Linked DNA regions of Homo sapiens: regions 1 and 3 are each linked to region 2. The links are contacts of gene promoters, found by promoter capture Hi-C in blood cells and fetal thymus (Javierre and others, 2016). All regions are on one chromosome and are shown on one strand. The core of a region is centred on a gene start or on the middle of the fragment in contact, and the rest is flanking DNA. Distances in the headings are between cores, read along the strand shown. Region 1 holds the start of MARCHF7 (membrane associated ring-CH-type finger 7). Region 2 holds the start of TANK (TRAF family member associated NFKB activator). Region 3 overlaps GCA (grancalcin).

What was found. Contacts are between HindIII fragments. The CHiCAGO score rates a contact against its expected background, and 5 or more counts as called.
Region 1: the fragment with the promoter of MARCHF7 here is called in contact with the fragment with the promoter of TANK in region 2 in 1 of 17 cell types (non-activated CD4 T cells); the score reaches 5.7 in non-activated CD4 T cells.
Region 3: a contact is called between a fragment that was not itself captured here and the fragment with the promoter of TANK in region 2, in 1 of 17 cell types (non-activated CD4 T cells). The highest score is 5.4, in non-activated CD4 T cells.

Annotation. Positions count from the first base shown.
Region 1 is chr2:159,711,190-159,714,053 of GRCh38, forward strand. MARCHF7 (membrane associated ring-CH-type finger 7) reads left to right here and starts at 1,317. Exons shown (of 12, transcript NM_001282805.2): 1 at 1,317-1,417. It also overlaps a transcript of BAZ2B not described here. RefSeq lists silencers at 766-1,275, 1,796-1,915 and enhancers at 892-1,558, 1,326-1,605. The HindIII fragment of the contact is 3,093 bases long and covers 1-1,602 here.
Region 2 is chr2:161,159,000-161,161,699 of GRCh38, forward strand. TANK (TRAF family member associated NFKB activator) reads left to right here and starts at 1,429. Exons shown (of 8, transcript NM_001199135.3): 1 at 1,429-1,487. It overlaps TANK-AS1 (TANK antisense RNA 1), which reads right to left and starts at 1,291. Exons shown (of 3, transcript NR_187173.1): 1 at 1,133-1,291; 2 at 166-237. RefSeq lists an enhancer at 1,139-1,902. The HindIII fragment of the contact is 6,780 bases long and covers 1-2,700 here.
Region 3 is chr2:162,346,750-162,349,449 of GRCh38, forward strand. GCA (grancalcin) reads left to right here. Exons shown (of 8, transcript NM_012198.5): 2 at 829-993. Among named protein-coding and RNA genes, the nearest start is that of GCA, 4.0 kb to the left of the region's middle. The HindIII fragment of the contact is 1,249 bases long and covers 714-1,962 here.

The DNA.
Region 1 (2,864 bases), core at 67-2,566, 1.4 Mb before region 2:
GCAGGGGCACTCGAACAGGCTGGAAAAGAATTATTTTTCTTTAAAGGGCAAATTAATTTCCTCAAAAGTAATCTCTGTTCACTTTATCCCATACCAGATGCTTATTTTCATTTCATATCCTAAAAGTTAGATTGGCACTTACATGCCAACTTAAAATACCTTTAAGTCTTTAAAATTTATAGTATTTTAGAATTTATCATAGTGAAACATGTACAGTCTGTTAGTCCCCAAGACAATAAAATAAGGATGATAGTGACTGATACTCCATTCCCTTCCGATGTAATGACAAACACGTAGAAACACTGTGTTTCATTTATTGGAATTATTTGGATCCAAAGGATTGCTTTTAATACCTTAACAAAATAGGTCATTAAAAAAAATCAAGTGCCTTTCAGTATTCTTCCAAGTTTCAATAACTGATCTTTTCCATTAAAAAACTTTTGATTCATTATTCCAAATCAACATATCATCTAAATATTTACACATAGTTAGATGTAGCTTTTCCCTAACCTACTCCCTTTTATTTATTAGTACTCATTTACATCTTAGTTTGCCACATTTACAGTTCTTTGAAAGTTTCATCTAATATTCACCAGACCATTCACCTCACAATTTTCCTCCCTCTTTCTAAATAGGTGAATTTGTTTACTGCAAAATCGATGGCTACGCTATTAAAGGTTACTATCACGATTTTAAAAGACATGATCACCATCATTTACCAAGATTCTTACCACAAGGAAATGATCACAAGGTTGGACAAACAGGCTCCAACTCTTAAGGGAAAGGGCTTGCAGTTAGATCACACAGGGCGGGCAGGGAAGCAAGCGGGGAGGGGTAGGTCGGAAAAGGCAGTGCTTGATTCAATTCAACATTCACTGCGCCACTTACCAAGAGCCAGAAAAAGAAAAAAAAAAAAAAAAAAAGCCAACCAGCTGGGCGTTATTTCGAGCACGGGGCCCTGCAGGTGGGCCTGTGGGCGGGGACCCGGCGCCCGGGAGGGAAGGGGCTGGCTCAGAGACTATAGACGGGCGGGGACCGCCCCGGCCCGGGCCTCCAGCGCCCGGCGCCCGCACACTCGCCAGCCCAGCTGCCGGCACGCCGGCCAGCCAGCCGCTGCCGCTTACCAGTGGCGCCTCGCTGACTCCCCGGGGGCAGCTCTTCAACGGTTCCCGCAGTCAGAGCACCACCCCGCGGTGGGGTACCTCCAGCCCGCCCGCAGCTCTCGGTCCCCGCCGCGCCGCCACTCTCGCGAGAAGCCAGGAAGTCCGCGAAGTGGGGGGAGGAGGAGCAGGGAGGGGCACTTAACGGTGGTGGCTGGTTCTGCGCCGGATCCGGGAGAGGGGCGGGCGCCATTGTGCTTCGCTGCCGACTGCATTTCCTCAGTCACGGGCCTAGAACTCCAAGGAGAAAGGCGGCGGTGCGTGTTGCTGCGAGTGGGACGCGCACTGGTCGGTGCCGGCTCAGGAGCCGGGGTAATGAGCTGCGGAGCTAGTTCTTCTCCGTCTTGGGCGCTAGTTCGGGACCAGGCCGCGAGTGGGGGAGGGGAGGAAACGAAGAGGCCTGGGGACGCGGAGGCCGCTTCCTCTCAGGATGAGGTGGAGAAGCTTGGTCCGGGGCCACCGGGGCCAAGGGGCCACAGCGCAGGCCTCCCTTGCCAGGGGCCTTTGGTCGGGTGGTGGAGTTTGTGGCGGGTGCAGGGGACAGATTGTGTGTCTTCCTCAGGGACGTGTGGCGGGTGACGGGAAGAAGCCTGAGCCCTCCTTTGGCGCGGGGCGGCCTCCTCTTGGGCCGTGGGGCGGGGGGTCTTCGGAGCCCTGCGGGCCGCGGGTGTCGCGCGTGAGCTCGCCGGTGAGCGCGGGGCAAAGGCGGGCAGGGCTCCGGCTCGGCCAGCCCGGCCTCGAGTCGAAGTGACTTCGGTAGCCCCTTAGATTCGGCCAAGATTGTCTTATTGGTAACGTCAGTTTTTGAATATCGTGACGCCCTGAGAGTTATTTTTGTGTTGTGGTGAATTGTGGGTTCTGCAACTCGAAGTAGGTGATTGTATTAAAAATGGACCTGTTGGCCTAAGAAGTAAAAATATAGAAGGCGCCGGGAGTAGGAAACTCCCTCATTTTGGTGAAACTGCGTATTGAAGATGTGTGTCCACCCCCTCACCCCAAAATGCTGCACTTAATACTTTTTCTCAAGTACCAAAGTAAATATATTGGGAAAGTCTATCTGGGTAATAAATTCGTCACGACTAATGTTGTTTGTTACTATTAGTTAAATGTGTGAAAACTGAAATTTGGCGAGGTTTTCTCCCCCATTTTGTAGGATTGATTAGCTATTTTTCTGATTACATGTTATTTTAAATCTCCACCTTTCTGTCCAGAACCAAGATGTAGGATTAAAGATGAATTTTCGATTTAAAAATCCAATAGTATACAGTTATTAAGAAGGCACACATGTAGTGTAACTAGATCTTTTACTTGAGGTAGCAAAAAGTTTGTTTGAGAAATGAGGTCAGTATAATATTTTTATTTAACAGCTCTACAGCATTTTGGGAGACAGGACTGGTGCATGAGGCAGTAGCACCAGACTCAGAAGACCTGGGTTTGAGTCTTGATTTTTGCCATAGTTATTTAAGTTCACGAGATTGTCTCAGAAACATGGCAGTTAATTTCTAGAGAGGATTAAATTTGCTGAGGTGGTGTGTGAAGCAGTCACTAGGGGACATAATACTAGTCTTGGTTTTTTTCCAAGTTTAGTGCTGGGTCAGGTGTCTTGAATTAAGAATTCCTACTTATTCAAGTACAAATGATTTCTTTTTTCTGCCACCTGGAAGAGGGCTATTTTCCCAGATAAAGCACGAGGATGCCCAGGTT
Region 2 (2,700 bases), core at 179-2,678:
ACACACATCTATTAGAATGGCCAAAATCCAGAACACTTACAACACCAAATGCTGGCAAGGATTTGGAGCAACAGGAACTCTTATTCATTCCTGGTGGGAATGCAAAATGGTAGCCACTTTGGAAGACAATTTGGCAATTGCTTACAAAACTAAACATTCTCTTACCTTATGATCCAGCAATCATACTACTTGGTATTTATCCAAAGGAGATGAAAACTTATGTCCGCACAAAAAAACCTGCACACAGATATTTATAACAGCTTTTTTTCATCACACTGGGGTGAGGGATGTTGATAATGGGGAAGGGCTATGCTTGTGTCGGGGCAGAAAGTATATGGAAAATCTCTGGACATTCCTTTCCATTTTGCTGTGAATCTAAAACTGCCCTCAAAAAAAGTTTAAATAATTTTTTTAAAGCAGTACTGTATTGTGATGTTTAACTCAATTACTTATTACAAGAAAACTATTCAACTGGTCAAAACGTTATATATAAGAAGTTTCTGTTTGTTAAAAACATTGTTTCAAATATATTTAGGCTTTGACTTTTAAAAGTATACAGCAACATTCAAGATAACTAGACAGAATGCACTGCAACTTGGCAGGTTTTTAAATCCTTGGACTTACTGGCCTAAGGAAAGATGTGTAAACATCCATGATTCAGAAATACAGGGAGAAATTGGGGCAGCCAGACCTCATCCTCTTGCCCTAAAGGGAAAAGATATCTTTCTTGCGGTATCTAAGATATGAATCTTAGATAATATTCATGCATGGCTAGGAATTGGAATAATGGGAAAGTCTTAATTCATGGGAAATTTTCTAATAAAGTTCCACCTCCATTTCCAGCCATTCCTCTTTAACAAATACATTTAGTGAAAAATACTACCAGTTGGGGAGAAACCAAATGGGTATGTGTATATGTAGTGTTTCTCAGAGTGTGGACTTTAACCACGTTTAATTACATAAATTTACGAGGATCTGTTGAAAATGCAGGTTCCTGGGCTTCACTCCAGTTGCTCTGAAATGAAAGCTGTAGGAGTCGGTTGGTGAAACTACATTTTGTTTCTCAGGTGATTCTTGTGTACTCTAACTCATATATAGGGTGATGTTATTTATTTACTGGTTATTTATTTACCGGTTATTTATCGTTTGGCAAAAAAATCCAGCAAAGACTCACAAGTGACCTTTACACTTGACATAGGATTCTCTTCCGCTGCTGACGCTTTTTTTTTCTAAGAGGCGGGGACTTGGCTGGGCAGGGCTGGGGGAGGGCGCTAGGCGGGGCGGGCAGGGGCGGGGCAGAAGAGCCCTGGGCTGGGTGGGGCAGGGCGGAAGGGCCCTGGCCTTGTTGGGTGGAGGTGAAGAGTTAATGGCTCCGCGCGCAGGCACTGCCCTCTGAACTGGAACAAAATGCAACTTCCGGTTGGAGTCACTCGGCCAGGCGCCGGCGACCTGAGGGGAGAGGGAACGCAGCTGAAAGCGTGAACTGTGTGAGTAAGAAACTTTGTGAATTGGTGTGTCCGAATCCGTCAAGCACGACGTCGGAGAATTTGTATGCGTGAGCGAGAGGGACGCGCTGACAGTAGGGGCGCCGCAGGGAGAGAAGCCGAGGAGCAGCGGAGACAACCAATTTGCAGTTTGGGGAGGGATTTTGTGCGGGAGAAACCACGCGAGTCCTTCCCCCGGAGCGGACTCCTTGTGGGTTGGTTTCCGGGCCCGCGATGTCAGCATAGCATCGTCGGCCTCTGCCCCAACGGCTTCAAGGGAGGGACTCGTCCCGGCTGCTTTGCCCGGGAAATGGGGGTGGAAGGGCCTGCGGTGTCGAGGTGAGCAGTGGACCCTCCAGGAACATTCCCGACTTCCCTTCGGGAGAGAGACTGCCTCCTAGAATCAAGTAGTATCGTGGTTACTCTTTCGAAAACTTAATTGGTTCTTTCTGTTGTTTTCCCAAGGTGGTTGCACAATTCCCCTCTGCCTTCCTGTGGGGTGTCATCATAGCCTGGTCAATGAGAAGTTGGGTAACTTCCCAGAGGGTCACGGAGGGAGTGGGTGGCCAAGGCAGGAAGAACAGAAGCCAACCCCGCCCACAGTGGGAACCCAGGCGTTAGGTAGAGTCCTCACGCCGGTGTAAACTGACTAGCAACGAGTTACAGGCAAAAAAGCTGTGCTTTTCTAGAAGTAGAAAGGGGGAGGATAATCAAAGAAGAGCTGTGCCTTTATTGTTATGCTATAACGAGCAAAAGTAAAGCAGCCTTGCTATGTAAAGTGGTGTTTATCTCACCTCACAGGAGATGCTTTTGACAAGTTATAATAAGGGAGAGATGGTAGTAAAGGAAGTGAAGAAGCGACGTGAAATTGAAGGAAAAGAAAATGACCTGCCTTCTTACCGCGGTTGGAATACACACCCAAACGAGAGGTAGCAGAGAAGCAAGCAGTGCATTCTGTTAAAAATTATTGTGTCCTCATTTGAGAGAGGAGGGATCCTCAAATAATACAACTATGTGCAAAGCAGGAAGTGAAATCCTTCTCAGTCCTCTCCCCAGTTGTAATCCAAGCCTTCCACATCTTTCCTGTATGTGCATAACCATGTTATTTTGCTTTCTTATGAAAATGAGATTATGCATACTGTTCGATAATCTGTTTCAGATTAAATATATATATATGGTGAAAGTCTTGCCATATGTAGCTCTATTTTATTGTAAT
Region 3 (2,700 bases), core at 88-2,587, 1.2 Mb after region 2:
TATTATTACTACATAATGTGGGTAAGGAAAGGCTTAGACAATATTTTCATGTCCAAGCCTTTCATGTTGCTTTGCATGTTTTTGAATCTTTACTATTGCCATTTTGTTATGGCTTTAGTTAAAACTAGATCACATAATCTGTAACATCAGAGAATCCCACATATATAAACTGTAATAAGTCACAATAGGCTGAAAAGAAACAAGTGGGAGGCCAGCATACAGAACTCTATGTCATCCCTCAGGATACTACCAGAACCACAGCAGTTTCTTTAAACATTTTGCTTCCCGCCCCTTAAAAGATTTTTGAAAAACTATATACCCTTTTCCCATATTTTATATTGACATATAAAGTTTTTATTTTAAGTTTAAATAGTTGTAAAGAATACAATACCCAACATATTGTAAATGTTGACACTTAAAGTTTCATTGTATTTACACATATATTCTTCTAAGTATGTGTCTTGAGGTTTACTTCTTAGTTTTACTTTAGGTAAAATCTTGCATTGTTTTACTTTTTGTTTACTTCAGTGATGTTGGTAAACATTTTTTAAAATTGTACATGTTCCTCTTAGATTAAGTTCTTAGAGGCTAGTAACTTTCTTTTTTCTTTTATACTTCTTTTAATGCTGGGTAATATATGTTGATGAATTGAATTATGTCTTAATGTAGGACATCTAACATTTTGTAGTTAAAATTTTTGTGATAAGATTATAAGCTTTTGGTAACTGTTTACTTTTTGACGGACTTCTAATAATTTCTTTTAATCCAACTTTCATAGATAATAGGTAGTATTTATATTACTAACCTTCTCCCCTTTCACTATTATAGTTTGGAAATTTTAGCATTCAGGTGCCAGGAATGCAGATGGGACAGCCAGTGCCAGAAACAGGCCCAGCTATACTCCTCGATGGATACTCTGGGCCAGCATATTCAGACACTTATTCCTCAGCTGGTGACTCCGTGTATACTTACTTCAGTGCTGTTGCTGGACAGGTGAGATGCTAAATTTATTGCATAAATATGTCTTTAAAATTATTGTTTAAGAGAAATGTCAGCTATTTAGAGTATCATTTTAAATGTATATGAAATTTATATTTTATATGTATCTAGACTAATTTTTTTCCTGAGATCAGAGATGAGCATAGTCATAATTATTTCATTTTAAAAGTCTGTTGATGTGATGCTTGATACATTGTTCATTTGACTAAAAGAGGAAACATTGTTTTCCATAGTGCGGAAATCTGATTCTTTCTTACCTAGTATGCTTGCGTTACTGAAATTCTTCTACAAGGGGCTCCTCTTACTAGTCACTAAACACCCCACCAAAACTTAGATATATCTTCTTATGAGTTATAATTTTTCTGTCACTTAAATCTTTTTATTTCCTTCACTCTGTTTGACATTTAGGAGCATCATACTCTCCCTGAGTGATAGATAACACAAAGCTAAGTAGGTTTAGCCTGCACATTCTTTTATAGCATGCAAAAATGACTATTGGAAATTTTAGGAAAGTAGGAAGCACTTTAAAAAATTATAAGGAACAATATTTCTAACTTGGGCCTCACTCCCATTTTTTAAAAAAAACTCAGTTAAAACCTAAGTATGTCAAACAATATGATTGGAAATCACTTCAGAGTCTCGTAAATTTATTCAGGTTGAGAAATTACATTTTTTTCACAGGTGAAGTTATATCATTTATAGTAATTTTGATTTGATATGGCTGGTAAATTTTCCAGGTTATCAAAATAATCATGTCAGGATTTATTAATTAAAAATTAAAGGAAATAGTATGTTACGATGTGGTATGGTTTTAGGATGTTATTTGTTTCCAGTAAATTTGAGTGATTATTTAAAGGACTGACTTTATTATGACCAATAGGGACGTGTGAAACTGCCAGTTCAAGTACATGAATTCTGTGGGTGAATTGTTACTGATGATATGTGAATACTGTGGTCAACGGAAGCTTTTCTTTTACTCCTACATAACTGTAACACCATACCACAGTTTATTCTTTTCCAAGTGATTTTATATATATTTTTCATGTGAAATTTCAAGGAAAATTAAGCAAATAGGATATGTATTATACCCCTTTGTATCAGTTATTAGTTGTATTTGACAGAAGTATTGAGTAAATATTCAAGATCGGAAGGAATACAATATTATAAGATGCCAATGTCTTCCAAATTAATTGATAAATAATATAATATTATATGAGTCAAATTCCTAAAGGTTTCTTTTTCTTTTTTCTTTTTGGCACTTGCTGCAATGATTCTAAAGTCTGTCTTGTATACTATGTTGTTGAGAATAAATATTAAATTATAATATATCATATAAATGTATTATTAATAATTGTGATAGTGTGGTCCTAATGTAAAAACAAACATAATACTGAAGAGCCCAGAAGCTTACCTGTGAATTCAGTATATGGTAGAGGTAGCATTTCATATCAGTGGGGAAAGAATGATTCCTGAATTAACTATCCTGAAATAATTAACAGTTTATCTAAAAGTAAATGTAAATCTTCAGCCTGTACCATATAGTAGCATGAATTCCAGATATATTAAAGGATTGAAAAGAGGGTGTATTGATGTTTATCTCCTGTTGTTGAAATAAATGAGCTTGTCTTTTTTTTTTTGCTGCTGCTTCAGCATGTATTGCAGCACCTGCTATATTTGTGTTTTTGTCTACAAAACTTCTTA